5 separate regions of the Homo sapiens genome follow, and all the other regions are linked to region 5. Evidence: promoter capture Hi-C in human tissues and cell types (Jung and others, 2019). All regions are on one chromosome and are shown on one strand. Each heading gives the region's core, a stretch centred on a gene start or on the middle of the fragment in contact. The rest is flanking DNA. Distances are from core to core; before and after follow the strand shown.

Region 1 (2,700 bases), core at 95-2,594, 38 kb after region 5:
TACTACCAGTTTAACTCTGCCCAGCACCATTTACCCACCCTAACTGAAGTAACTTGCCCTGTTCATCTCTACCAGAGGCACCTGTTTAGTTCCTTCAAAAGAACTAACCACAATCTACAGTAATTGCATTGGTTTACTTGTTTATCATGTGTCTCCTTCGGTAGAAGACAGGTTCTTGTCATCCTTGTAATCCCAGCACTTTGGGAGGCCAAGGCGGGCGGGTCACTTGAGGTTAGGAGTTCAAGACCAGCCTGACCCAATGGTGAAACCCCACCTCTACTAAAAATACAAAAATTAGCCAGGCATGGTGGTGTGCAACTGTAGTCCCAGCTACTCAGGAGGCTGAGGCAGGAGAATCACCTAAACTCGGGAGATGGACATTGCAGTGAGCCAAGACCGCATCACTGCACTCCAGCCTAGGTGACAGAGTAAGATTCCGTCTCAAAAAAAAAAAAAAAAAAAAAAAAAAAGAAGAAGAAGACAGGTTCCTGGAGCAAGGACCACATTTGACTGTTTCCAGCTAAATCTTCAGGCACGGAGTAGCCCTTCAACACATAACTGTTGAAAGAACTGAGAAGCAGCCTATAGAAGTGTCTTCCTTATCCTCAACACTGAATATCATTAATCTTTCCAACTTCTGCACTCTGACCAATAAGAAAGCTTAGATCACTTTCCCTTACTGTGTGACCTTGCCTGAGCCACTCAACCTCTCTGGGTCCCAGGTATCTGAAAACCAGGAGACACAGGCTGACTGTATTAATGCAGCTCAAACAGAGGGAGTTGGTGTAGGGGTGTGTGTGTAAGCAGTAACTTGGTTCTGGTTTCAGCCTTGTCTCTGCCTCCCTGTGTGATCTTGGGCCAGGCACACCCCTCTCTGGGCCTGCTTCCTCCTCTGTAAAATGGAGGTTTCAAACAGCCAAGAAGTTTTGAAGCCCCAGTCAGTCCTCCCACCCTGAGGACCTGCAGATAACACCCATGTGGGTGAGTGGGTGTGTGGGAGGGCCCGTCCCCAGAATCCAGAATCACTCTTCAGTGACGGTGAACGGGGTGCTTCAGCCAAAAGCCCTGTCTGGTTTCACAATCGCTATCTACGGAAAGGAATATTCTTACTTCCCCTCTATTCAGCGTCGTCAGGTCCTTGCCTTAAGTCTGCTCTCAGGAAATTCCCCACCAAGTTCCTCTGGTCGCAGCTCTTCCTCCTAAGTTCTTCCAAATTTTCCTGCATCGCCTCACTCTCCCAAATGTAGGACGGGCGAGCTTGCCTTTTCAGGAAGATTTAGTCCAAGCAGACCTGGGAGCACAGCTCTCTCCATGAGCCCCATCCTTAGAGAAGTGTCTGTGAGCCCACAGATCCAGACCCTAGTTTTAATCAGCAAAGAAACAGAAGCTTCGGTCCAGGCACAGTGGCTCGTGCCTGTAATCAATCCCAGCACTTTGGGAGGCTGAGGCGGGTGGATCACTTGAGGTCAGGAGTTTGAGACCAGCCTGGCCAACACGGTGAAACTCTGTCTCTACAAAAAATACAAAAATTAGCTGGGCGTGGCAGCCCATGCCTGTTGTCCCAGCTACTCGGGAGGCTAACTTGAGGATCGCTTGAGCCCTGGAGATAAAGGCTGCCGTGAGCCGTGATTGTGCCACTGCACTCCAACCTGGGCGACAGAGTGAGACTCCATCACAAAAAAAGAAAAAGAAAAAGAAATAGAAGCGTCTACAGGATAGCATGGTCCTGGGTGTTCTCTGTCTCACATGCTCAGCTGGAAGGGACTCTGGCCTGCCCAAATGAGACTAGGAGCTAGGCTGACCAACCATCCTGGTTTGCCTGAAATTGTCCTGGTTTTAATACTTACAGTCCCTTGTCCTGGGAGCTCCTTTGGCTCTAGGCAAGCAAGGAAGGTTGGCTACCCTGCTGGAAACAGACCCACCCAAAGCACCAGAAACAGGACACGAGCAAACAACACAAGGAGTGGGGCGACCCTCCTGTTCCTCTGTTCATTCAGTGGCTGGAGAATCATTTAAGGCACAACGCTGAGGTGCCAGGCAGTGTACAGGATGCTGGGGGATGGAGAGCCAGCCAGGGCACAGGAAGCACGGGGACGTCAGCCTGGAGCCACAGCTAGGCAATTTCTGATGACAGCCCTGAAGGGGCGGGGAGGACTGGGCAGCCCAGGGGTCTGTAGGTGCCTGGGATACTGCATAGCTCAAGCAGATCAGCCCCCTCCTATCCTCAGAACCCTGAGGACTGCTGAAGCGGTGAAGAATCCTTTAGCTGGGGAAAGTGGCTCACTACCAGCCCAGGGGGAATCGCTGTTCTGCTGAAAGGCTGGGGGTTCTAGGGGTTAACGAAGTGACTCTCCTCATGAGGACAGGGAGAATGAATGATGAGATAAGGCCCTTGCAGTTGCGAGCCAGGGATGCAGCATGATCCGGTGGGGAGAGGCTACTCCAGAAACAGCTCCAGTCCTGCCGTGACTCACCAGATGAGTGACCTGGGGCATGCTTGTGAACTCTCCAAAGCTTCAGTTTCCCCAGCTCTCAAGTGAGAAAATACGATCACAGCTGCACAGATTGTCATAAATCATAAACAAAAATATACACATAAACTGCTTAGCTTTGTGCCACTGCAAAAAATAGCTTCCTGTGGAACAGGGCCGCATCAGGGGCAGATCTCTCCCCAGCTCTGCTGGCTAACGCACCTGGCAC
Region 2 (2,700 bases), core at 98-2,597, 59 kb after region 5:
GCACAAAAGCATGAAGGGATGCTTCCCCACCAGTGAGGATGCCAGCGCAGCTCATCTGTTGAAAGCAACCTGAGGCTTCCTTAGCACCAACAGCCCCTCCTGAGCTGAAGCAAACCACACTGTGTTGTCCATCCCATCCACAGGAGGGCTGGCAGAACCTCAAGCAGCCAAGGCACTCAACCCCCAGAGCGCTAATGGCAGAGAGGCCCATCAGTCACCTCTGAATTCTCAAACCCACGTGGGAGAGGCCCAGCTCTGAGGAACAGAGGGATAGCTGTGCTCCCTGAATGTGAGATCTGATCTCCCTGCGCACCACTATCTCCCTAGCGTTATCTGCACCCTGCAATGACCTGGAGCTCAGGCAGGGTGTGGGACTCAACATCCAGTCTCTAAGTAATCGCATCAAAGTCAGTTAACCCAGGTGGGGAAGTGGGAGCTCTGCAGAATGCCAGGGAACTCTGACATGCAAGCAGCACAGCTTCCAGAGGGCCTGCACACACCCCAGCCCATGTGCTCTTACCACAGCCAGTGAGGGCGAGGCAGGGCTGGAATCGCTCTCATTTTACAGATAAGCAGCCTGAGGCTCACAGAGGTAGAGGAATTTCCCAGAGGTACACAGAGGTCCACATTGGGAGTGCTGGTGGCAGCATCTTTTGCTGCAGAGCAGGGCAGAGACCGGGTGGAGACATATTTATCATCCCCCTACAAATGTATAAGCTGCTCTAGCTGAGGTTGTCTGTCTCCTGGAGGCACAAGCCCAAACACTATCACTGGGGTCGCGGTGCATCACCAGGAAGCCTCAGATGCTGGGCCTGGCAGCCACATGCCTTCCAGCAGCAAGCAGGAATGTGAGACACGTTCCTCTCAGGGAGGGCAGTGTCTTTCTTCTACCTGGCCCTAAGGTGCAGGTGACCTGCCCAAGCCAGCAAATGACAGAGTTTGATTTTTTTTTCTTTTTTTTCGAGACAGAGTCTCGCTCTGTCGCTCAGGCTGGAGTGCAGTGGCATGATCCTGGCTGACTGCAACCTCCGCCTCCTGGGTTCAAGCAATTCTCCCACCTCAGCCTCCCGAGTAGCTGGGATTACAGGCGTACAATACCACACGCAGCTAATTTTGTATTTTTAGTAGAGACAGTGTTTCACCATGTTAGCCAGGATGGTCTTGAGCTCCCGACCTCAGGTGATCCACCTGCTTTGACCTCCCAAAGTGTTGGGATTACAGGTGCTGAGCCATGGTGCCCGGCCAGGGTTTGATTTCTTTCTCCTCTTTCTGCAGTGGTAGACAAGAGTAAAGGAATACATTAGCTAATCTTTTCTCTCAAATCCCACCGCCCATTCCCCTCAGCATTTCCAGAGGCCTATGGGTCTTCGTAGTTTTAAAAAGAAAAGAAAAGAAAAAGATTAAGAGAAAAGCCCCCACCTCTGTCAGTTACCCAAAATTGACGGACATGGTTGGCAGCTAAGCAAAGACCATGTTAAAGAGTGTCTGTGGGTGGGCAGCATGGGGCAGGCTTCCAAGCTCTCGCCTTACTCTGCAACCCCTGCAAAGAGCCCCAGAGTGGGCATGGGGGCCTCACCCAGACTGGCCCAGGGTGGGCATGGGGGTTCCTCACCCAGACTGTGGACAGGCCCTGGCCCAGGGGTGCCAGGCGCCAGGGTACCCCCATATGGTGGGTGAATGTGGATGAGCCACTGCTGGCCTGGGCAGGGGGGCACTTGAGTTGCTCGCTATGGTGAGAAGGAAACTCATTTCCATTTGCTACACTGACCCAGTTTGCGAACACCAGGAAAGGGGAGAGATGCTCTTCAAACACAATTTAAAAGCCCACCAGAGCCAGCTGGCCAGATGTGAGGCCCATTTTATGACGGGCCACATTTCCTCTCCTCCGCCACACTGAGAGGCTCCGTGCTAAGGGTCTCTTCTGGAAGAATTCAATTCCAGGCTCAGAGTCCAGGTAAAGAGGTTTCTTCGGGCAGGGAGGCCCCGAAATGAGCCCGTTTATCTCTGGCAGACCCTGGTTAAGCTTTCTCTTCCCTGAATGCCATTTGGGCACTTTGAAATAAGTGCAGCAAATTAGTCACGAGCTGCGGCAGACTCAGTGTCCGTGCTGCTGAGTGGCTTCTGCGAGGCAGCTTTGTGCAGCCCCCACCTCCAGGAAGCAGCAGCAGAGGCAGCTGGGCTCCTACCGGGCGGGCGAGGAAAAGCGATTCAAGCCTGGGGGTGGCAGCTCAAGGCAGCAGAGCGTTACCTGGATCACAGGGGCATGAAATTAGCAGCAGCGAGCAGGTTGGAGCCAAGAATAGTTTGCCATTGCAAACTTGCCGCTTTCGGATAGCTGAGTTCTGCGGCCTGGGATATTGCAGGGGAGGTGCCCTTGCCCTGGGCATCAGCCCAGATCATTCCTGAGCAAAATGAGGTGAGCAGAGGGCAGATGTCCCCATAAGGGGTGGGGCTGGTAACCTTTCTGCAAGTTCCAAGGCCCTGTGTTTGGAGCACTGGCTCAGGAAAGATAATGGGTGTGTGGCCAAGGGCAGGGACCAGCTGGGAGGGCTGGCTGGGCAGGGAAGGGGGGCAATGCCTGTTCCAGGGGCCAGGCAGGAGGCTAGATGCAGCCAGGCTGAAGGGGAGGCCAGAGGCCCAAGGGAAGGACAAATCTGGGGTCAGAATCAGACAGGTAAGCTCTGGAAAATGCTGGCCAGA
Region 3 (2,700 bases), core at 17-2,516, 35 kb before region 5:
GAAGCAGAAGTGTGGGAGCCACCAGCAGGGAGGTGGTGCTTACCGCCACCAGAGGGGCAAGATCAGCAGGGCTCCCAAACCCCTGAGCTGAGGCAACTGGACAGAGAATCAGTCCGTCTTTGAAAATTGTCCAAAGAGCCTGAAAATGCATATACCCTGTGGCCCAGCAATTCCACCTCCTGAACCTCAGCTGAGGAAATTGCCATAGCTGTACGTGGACACCAAGCCACAGGGATGCCCACTGCTGCGTAACTTATGATAGATACCCAAAAGGGGACTGGCTCAACTGTGGGATGTCCCTAGGAAGCAACAGGGGATGGTGTTTGGATTCCTAGTGTGTGAATGTATGCAGGGGAGTGTGCGCATACAGCACTGTGGAGTGAAGCCAGGGTGTTGTGTGAGTGGTGAGGTTATGGGAAGTTTTATTGTCTTCTAGCTAGTTTCTGCATTCCGCCTATCTTCTGCAATAAGCATTCAACGTGTTGACATCAGTGGCCTCATTTATGGCCACCCTACCAAAATCTTGCCACAGCCTATGAACACATGGACAACCCTGATTAGACGTTCTCTCCCGCACTGTCCTGAGCCTCCCTGAAGGCCAGAGTCCCAGGTGCAAACACCAGGGGAGACTCTGGGAGCTGGGAGGGTCCTCGGCGGTCCTCTGGCTGACACCCCTCCCTGGGCTGCTACCAGACGTTTCTAGGGACATGGAGCTCCTTTTATCCTGGGCCGTGGGTCCCAGCTCGGGAGGCGCTGCCTCTCCATCCCGAGTCCAGCCCCACTGGGTCTTTCCTCGCTAGGCGAGGAGGTCGGATTGCTCCCATCACCAGGAGGGCTCCCTCATGCTCTGCCTGCAGGCAGCCACGAGCAGCAGAATGGGCTAAAACCCAGGCTCGGAGACAAGGCCCAAGGCTGGCACTTGGCCCCATACTGAGGGTTCTCCTTTCCCCAGGTGAGGACCAACAGTGTGAAAGAAAACTTGTGCCTGAAAGCACACACACACACTCTCTCACACACTCACCCACACACTCACACTCACCCACACACTGCACACACACACTCTCAAACACACACCTACACACTCACATGCTCTCACACACACGCTCTCAAACACACACTCACCCACACACTCACACACACACAAACACACACCACACAACTCACACACTCTCAAACACACACCCAGACTCTCACACTCACACACCGCACACACACTTTTTCAAACACACACCCACACATTCACACACTCACACACACACTCTCAAACACACTCATGCACACACACACTCTCAAACACATGCACACACACACATTCTCAAACACACTCATGTGCACACACTCACACACACACAATTGCGTTCTGCCACCCCCTCCAGGAGATGCATCCACAAAATGCCCCCACCCCACTGCACAACCCTGGAGGGCCCCTCCTTCCTGTTCCCACTCCTTTGCCCAGGTTGGAGGAAGCCAGGTTCCTTGCAAAGCTCCCCATGACCTGTAGGGGTTTCACCAAACACCTCTGAATCCCAGAAAAAAACCTAAGAGGAAGCCCGTTGAAGCCTGGTGTCCTAGACTGGAAAGGCACATTCCATGTCTCTGCTGGAGCAAGGCACACTCCCCTCTTTTGGGAAATAGGCAGTTCTGGGCCTAACTCCCGGGGCAGGGCCCCCACCGTGACCATCTCCCATCTCTCCCTGCAGCCCGGTCAGGAGGTACAAGGGCAGAGGGCACACTGCTGCCTGCCAACAGGCAACGCCTCCTGGCCTAGCAGGCAGGGGGGGACATGAGAGAATAGAGCAGGGGGAAGGAAAAGGGCAGGAGGGGACATCTGGGCAGCGTTTCAGTTTCTCGGGAGTGAGAGATTTTCACAGCATGGTGCCACGATTTAGTTTGAACTGTTATGAATTCCCATAAAATCAGATGCACTCAACTTTGAATAGAAATACAGAAATGCGCTGCAGAAATCAAATACAATTTGGTGATTATTCACCACTGCTACACACAGAGAGGTTCGTGCGTGCAAGAAGGCGCCTGCAGATGACACCATTAGGGCTGCTAATGGCCAAGCCCTTGTAGGTCACCGATGACCACGCTTCAAAGCCCACACTATCCAGGCCACTGCCGGGGAGGCTGCTGTGATGGAAAGAGTAGACAAGACCACCTCATGGCTATTCTGTTCTTGCACCCTCCCCTGGATCCCTCCCAGAAGCTTCCATGAAGTGGTGCCTGGGGCAGGAAGGCAGGGCACGACCTGAGACCCCCAGGGTGGGGAGCCACAGACATCAGCCTCCCCCATATGAAGCCTGGTGTCTCTGAGTTCCCCTCACCGACTCTTAAAAATATCATACAGCAAAAGATTTATTTTACTTTATTCTTTTGGGGAGCAGTGTACGGACGTAGTAAATAACTAAAAAGAAAGGGTGTACAGCAGGAAGCGAATCTCCTGTCTCCCCATCCCACAACTCCTTCCCAGAGGCAACGCTCAAGGTCTCATTCCAGAAGTTCTGTATGTTCATATTAGCACATGGGCCCCTCCCTCTCTTTAAAGAAAATGTGAGTGGTACTCATGCTATCCGACTCCTAGCTTTTTACATGACCATGTATCCTGAGGACTGTTCCATTTCAGTACATACGGAGTTGCTTGTTCTTTTTAGCAGCTGCAGGGTGTCCTTCTATATGGGGGACCATCCTTTAACCAGT
Region 4 (2,700 bases), core at 102-2,601, 53 kb before region 5:
GGAAGCTGCTGGGGTAACTGGGCTTGGACCTTGGTGATGGGAGTGGAAGGGCCGAGAGGTGAGAAGATTCTGGGATGATTTTGGAGACTGAGCCAACAGGATGCCCTAAGGGATGGGAGGGGAGGGGAGGGAGAAAAAGAGGCACAGGAATGAGTCCCAGCTTTTGGCCTGGGCAACTGGCAGGATGGAGCCACAGCTGAGATGGGGAAGGCTGCCGGTGAGGCAGGAATCTGGGGGAGGTCAGGATTCCAGCTTTGGACAAACTGAGGATGAAAATGTCCCTTTAGACATCAGGCAGAAATGTTGAGTAGAGAGGTGGCTATAGGAGTCTGGAGTCTTCCCTGAGAGCAGCCCAGACAGAAAATATAAAGCTAGGAGTTGTCAGCATATAGGTAGTGTCCAAGCCAGGAGGCTAGATGGGACCACCACGGGAATGAGAATGAGGAGAGGAGAGACAAGAGCTGAGCCCTGGGGCCCTCTGATGCTAAGAGGTGCGGGAGGAACCAGCAGAGAGGCTGGGAAGGGGCGGGTGGTGTCCTGGAGGAGAAAAAGATCAACCAATTGAAGGCCACAAGGTCTGGGAAGAAATGATGGGATTTAGCAACACAGAGGTGGTTGGTGATCTCGACATCAGCAAGGCTGGTGGGGCATTTCAAGTAGATTCAGGGCAAGACGCGGTGGCTCACGCCTGTAATCCTAGCACTTTGGGAGGCTGAGGTGGGTGGATCACCTGAGGTCGGGAGTTTGAGACCAGCCTGGACAACGTGGTGAAACCCCGTCTCTACTAAAAACATAAAAAAATTAGCTGGGAGTGGTGGCGTGTGCCTGTAATCCCAGCTACCCAGGAGGCTGAGGCAGGAGAATCACTGGAACCCGGGAGGTGGAGGCTGCAGTGAGCCAAGATTGTGCCACTGCACTCCAGCCTGGGTGACAGAGTGAGACTCCGTCTCAAAAAAAAAAAAAAAAAAAAAGTAGATTCAGGAGGTTAAGTGGGAGACAGCACCCCTGCAGCACCTGTCCCTCATGCTAAAGGCATCATGTGACCATTCAGGGCTGATAGGCAGGGCCAAGGTGTGGGTGAGGCCAACCAGCCTGACCAGGGACTGAGCTGCTGATCTGCCCTCACGCCACTCCACGCATTCCAGGCTCTGCTGCCAACAACTGATATTAACGTCTGGAGCAAGACATGCAGGGATTCAGGGCCCTGTCTGGGGAAGCAGGGCGATGTGAACAGACCAGGAGAAGGCAGCACTAGTTAATGACTTCATTTGGCTTCTGTCTTCTCCGGCTGGTAGACGGTCTTCAAAAAGAACATTACACAGAGGGAACTGGAGCCTGAGATAGGTGAGGAGATAGTAATGAACACGTAGGCTCTGTGAGGGATTTCAGATGGCCATGCTGTGCCCTCCCATTCTGCTCCCAGGCCACTGGCCCCCTGTTGGAACGCAGGCAAGAGCATACAAAACGAGAAGGCTCAGAAGGTTGGGGGTGGATAAAAGTCTCAGTCTCTAACCCAGGAAAGCACATTCACAGAAGCTACATATAGATAGACCCTGTAGCCCAACTCTACCTCTGATTCTTAAAAGGAATTTTTAAAATGAATTAATGCATAAAAACACTTAGGACACTGCCTTGAACAGTCAATAAATGCTGTTGTTATAATAATTTATGATATATCTATATATCTATATATATAGTATGTCATATGTGTTATATTATCATTTTTAATCTATGAGGCTCCAGCAATCAGAATTAGACCCAATGGGTAGTTCCAGGGAGGCAGGTTTCCTGTTAATCTTAGGAAGAATTTTTTCTTCCTGGAACCGTCCCACAGCACAGAGTGAGCTGCCTTGTAGGCCCACGAGCTGACCATCACTGGGTGTCTAAGGAGAAGCCAGGTAATGAGGCCTCGAGCTGGAAGTTTGATCTGCTTACAACTCCAACCTCTGGTGAGCCGACACGGTCAGCCTGGCTTGGGCTCTGCCTCTTGCCACTGGCACTGAGCACCACCCTGGACCCAGCTTATCTGTGTGTTTGTCCACCCTGAAAGCCCATGGCTTGTAGGACAGCCCAATCTGCCATCCCTGGGCCACACATGGGCTCTCCCTTTAGTAAAAACAAAACATTCCTGGGTTGGAAGCTTTAGAGGTGGTGGTATTGTATGTAAACTTCCCAACAATCCAGTGAGGGATCCAGTCACCCATTTTGGTGACTGGAACCCTGAGTCAAAGAGTGAACAGTTCATGAGAGCCAAGTCTCAAAGTCAAGTCTCTAGACCACCCCACTCCCCATGGCAGGAAAAAGGCCAGTCCCCTGGACAAGCCATTTCAACCTCCCCCTCTCCCTGGCCTGCTGGTGGGAGGCCTGCACCCATGGAGCCCACACGTCCATGTGAGTCCATACCCACCATCTGCTTGGCCCAGGGACAAGTGGGTGCCAGCACCCAGCAGAGGGCTCCAGGCTGGTCTCCTCTGAGAACCTAGAAACAACTGGGGCCAGCCAGGCTGCCCCAGCCAAAGTCCACTGGGCTCATCTTTCCAATGCCCACTCATTGTTGAAATGAGGAGATAGAGGCCCAGAGAGGTGCAGTGCTGTGCCCAAGGTTACACAGCGAGAAACAGATGTTGGGCTCCTGACTTTCAGGTGAAAGCTGTGCTGTTCCCATACTGATGCAAAAAGAAGAGAAGAGGCTGGGAGGGC
Region 5 (2,700 bases), core at 153-2,652:
AAGGACGTAGAAAAAGAAGGCTCTGCTTTCTGAATTACTAGGGAGGATGGGGGAGTATTACTACCGAGGAAAGGCTAATTTCCTCCCAGTGGACCGCTGACAGCACTAGGGCTGGGGCTGGGGTCGCAGTGGGGCGGCGGCTGGCATCGGATCTCCGCTCACAGCACGGAGGCAGCCTCTCTAGGTGCCCGCTCCGAGAAAGCCAGGCAGAGTCCCCGCCGGCTGGCGCCGTCACTGCCTTGGAACACGCGGGCTCTGCTCGAGTCCTGGGCTGACCTACGGTGGAGATGAGGGGCAGTGCTCCCGGGTGCCAGCTCCTGGGGGCAGCCAGCACCGCTCGTAGCGGACCAGTTCCAGGGCCAGGAAGGCGAAGCGAGAGCCGCAAAAGGCTCCCGGCTCCTCGAGGGGCGCGTCTTCCCATAGCTGGACCGAATTTGGGAGGATGTGTAAGTCCCCTGGGGTCTCCCGCGGGCACAGGGACTTGATGAGGGGAGGGGAGAACTACGTGCCTTTAGTTCCCCTCAGCGCCTCTGCCCAGCCCGCAGTAGGGGTGCGCCCCACCCCATCCCCACTGTCCAAATGGGGACCCAGGGCTCAGAAGGGGAGGGGATTGGATCCCAACGCGCTCCACTCTCGAAAATCTCTCCACCCCAGACCTGGACCCTCTCCGTAGCGCCGAGAGCAAAGCCCCCAAATGTTCGCGGTCCCAGGACCGGGGATGGGGGATGGGATGCCTGTCCTCCCAAGGCCAACGCGAATGGAATTCGAGTTCCCAGGAATCAAAGTTGCCGCGCGTCGGGGAGCTCGGAGCGGGGCGCGAGGCTAGGGCCAGGGGCCTGGGACCGAAGGATGCCGCGAGCGCCCGCCACGGGCGATGGCCGCGCTGGGAACAAGTGGTTCGGCAGCCGCGGTCACCACCAACTTCCCCGCCGCGCGGCGGGCGAACGGCGAGGGGAAGGAGAGGGAAGCGAGGAGGGAAGAGGCGGTGCGTGGCTCCGGGTACCGTGTGCGTGTGTGCAGCGGCGCCGCGCCTCGCCTCGCCTCGGGCTCTGCTCTCCGCCGGATCGGCCCCCGCGGGCCGCCTGCTCTGGCCCTGGCCACCGCCGCGTCTTCCCGCCGGCGCGAAGGCTCATCCGCGGCGTGCCGGCAGCTCCTGGGTCTCCGCGGGCCGCTCGCCGCTCGCCGCTCGCCGCTCGCAACTTCAGGCGCGCCGGGGGCTCGGACTGGGCGCGCCCCAAACGTCCAGAGGCTCTGCCACCCCGCGCTCCATGCCCAGGCCGGGCTGACTAGCCCCGACCACCTCAGCGTCCGGCCGCCGTCGGACGCGTCCTCTAGCCAAGCATCGCGCCTGCAGCCCGCGTCCCTCTCTCCCGAGCCGCCGCCGCCGCTCAAGTCCGCGATCAACTTTCCCTTGCTTCCCCCGCCCCGCTCGGCCCCCGCCCCGCTCGGCCCCCGCCGTCCAGACCCCGCCTCCCGCAGCTCCCTCCCTCACCTCCCGCCTCGCCCGGCCCCCGCCCGCCCGCCCGCGCTCGGCGCTCCCCCACCCCTCAGGCCGCCAGGACCCCCGAGCTCCCGCCCGGCCCCGCCCGGACCCCCGGGAGCGGCGCCGAGCCCCGCCGGGCGCTCAGGGCATGAATATTTCAGTGCTGGCGAAGCTGCCCTCTGCCGATGTCATGGCACCGGCTGCTGTGGCAACTCTACGAATCCCCCAAAGGGGCAGGGAGGAAGCCCGCGGAAGAGGCCCCAGGTGCGAGACAGAGCAGTGCCCCGCCAGGCCGCCAGCCGTCCCGCAGAGGGGCGCGCAGGGGGATGGGGCCCCCAGCGTCTCGTCCGCCCCGCGCCTCAGGCAGAGCGAGGTAACGCTCCCGGGAAGCCCGGGCGGGCGAGCGGGCGCTCGGCCTAGGTGAGCCCGCGCCATCTGTTGGCTTTAAGCGCCCCCTCTCTGCTCCCAGAGTCGCTGAGCAGTCCCTCTAGTCCTTGGGGCCTCTTGGCCTACGCTTCTCTCCAACCAGCTGCCTTTGCCCACCCGACTCGTGCGCTCCCATCTGCGCCTCCTCCCTCACTAGAGCTCAAGAGGCCTCCAAGTGCTTAGAAATGGAGGACCCCGGGTTGGAGGAGACCCGTGAGGTCACTTAGGCGCCCTCACCCCTGCGGGAGCTCCGTCTGCAGTGCCCGAGTCATGGTCTCCCGGCTCCTTTTTGCACACCTATAGGGACAGAGACTTTATGGCTTTCTGAGACAGCTGGATCAAGAAAGGGTCCATATGCAGGTAATGGAAGAGGTTTATCCCCTACCTTTGATCTTTACTTCCCCGGGGCTAAGCATTCTGATTTTTTAAAACTATTTCTCACATGACAGGATTTCCGAGCTGTCACTGTTCCAGTCAGTACATTGACAGTACCTGCCTGGAGCCAGGCTCTGGGCTGAGACTTTCTGGGCCTCAACTCATTCTATCTTCAATAAAGTCTTTCTGGTGGGCCCTGCCATTATCCCAGTTTTACAGTGAGAAACAGGCTTTAGGAGGTTGGGGACTTGCCCCTGTGGTGGAGTCGGGTATTGAACCCAGAATCTATCTGGTTCCAAAGCTCCAGTTCCTTACCATTCGCTCATTCATTATTCATTCATTCATTCACAGTCACTGCTATGTGCTAGCTAACTGAAATAGTTTCTAGGAATAGGATGGAGAACAAAACAGGCTTG

Evidence for each region. The method cuts DNA at HindIII sites, captures the fragments that hold promoters and counts their contacts. A contact is called where the count stands out against the background at its distance.
Region 1: a fragment that was not itself captured here is called in contact with the fragment with the promoter of CDH23 in region 5 in 11 of the 25 tissues and cell types used here (H1 embryonic stem cells, IMR-90 fibroblasts, aorta and 8 more).
Region 2: a contact is called between a fragment that was not itself captured here and the fragment with the promoter of CDH23 in region 5, in 1 of the 25 tissues and cell types used here (aorta).
Region 3: a fragment that was not itself captured here is called in contact with the fragment with the promoter of CDH23 in region 5 in 1 of the 25 tissues and cell types used here (adrenal gland).
Region 4: a contact is called between a fragment that was not itself captured here and the fragment with the promoter of CDH23 in region 5, in 1 of the 25 tissues and cell types used here (IMR-90 fibroblasts).

What each region holds. Positions count from the first base shown.
Region 1 is chr10:71,357,905-71,360,604 of GRCh38, reverse strand. All of the region lies in intron 5 of SLC29A3 (solute carrier family 29 member 3), which reads right to left. Among named protein-coding and RNA genes, the nearest start is that of CDH23, 38 kb to the left of the region's middle. RefSeq lists a silencer at 931-1,020. The HindIII fragment of the contact is 3,004 bases long and covers 1-2,700 here.
Region 2 is chr10:71,337,019-71,339,718 of GRCh38, reverse strand. The region is part of intron 2 of SLC29A3 (solute carrier family 29 member 3); the gene reads right to left. Among named protein-coding and RNA genes, the nearest start is that of SLC29A3, 19 kb to the right of the region's middle. The HindIII fragment of the contact is 3,390 bases long and covers 1-2,700 here.
Region 3 is chr10:71,430,847-71,433,546 of GRCh38, reverse strand. The region is part of intron 1 of CDH23 (cadherin related 23); the gene reads right to left. Among named protein-coding and RNA genes, the nearest start is that of CDH23, 35 kb to the right of the region's middle. The HindIII fragment of the contact is 6,567 bases long and covers 1-2,700 here.
Region 4 is chr10:71,448,534-71,451,233 of GRCh38, reverse strand. The region is part of intron 3 of CDH23 (cadherin related 23); the gene reads right to left. Among named protein-coding and RNA genes, the nearest start is that of CDH23, 53 kb to the right of the region's middle. The HindIII fragment of the contact is 3,738 bases long and covers 1-2,700 here.
Region 5 is chr10:71,395,622-71,398,321 of GRCh38, reverse strand. CDH23 (cadherin related 23) reads right to left here and starts at 1,402. Exons shown (of 70, transcript NM_022124.6): 1 at 1,004-1,402. RefSeq lists an enhancer at 599-1,110 and a silencer at 1,794-1,883. The HindIII fragment of the contact is 12,378 bases long and covers 1-2,700 here.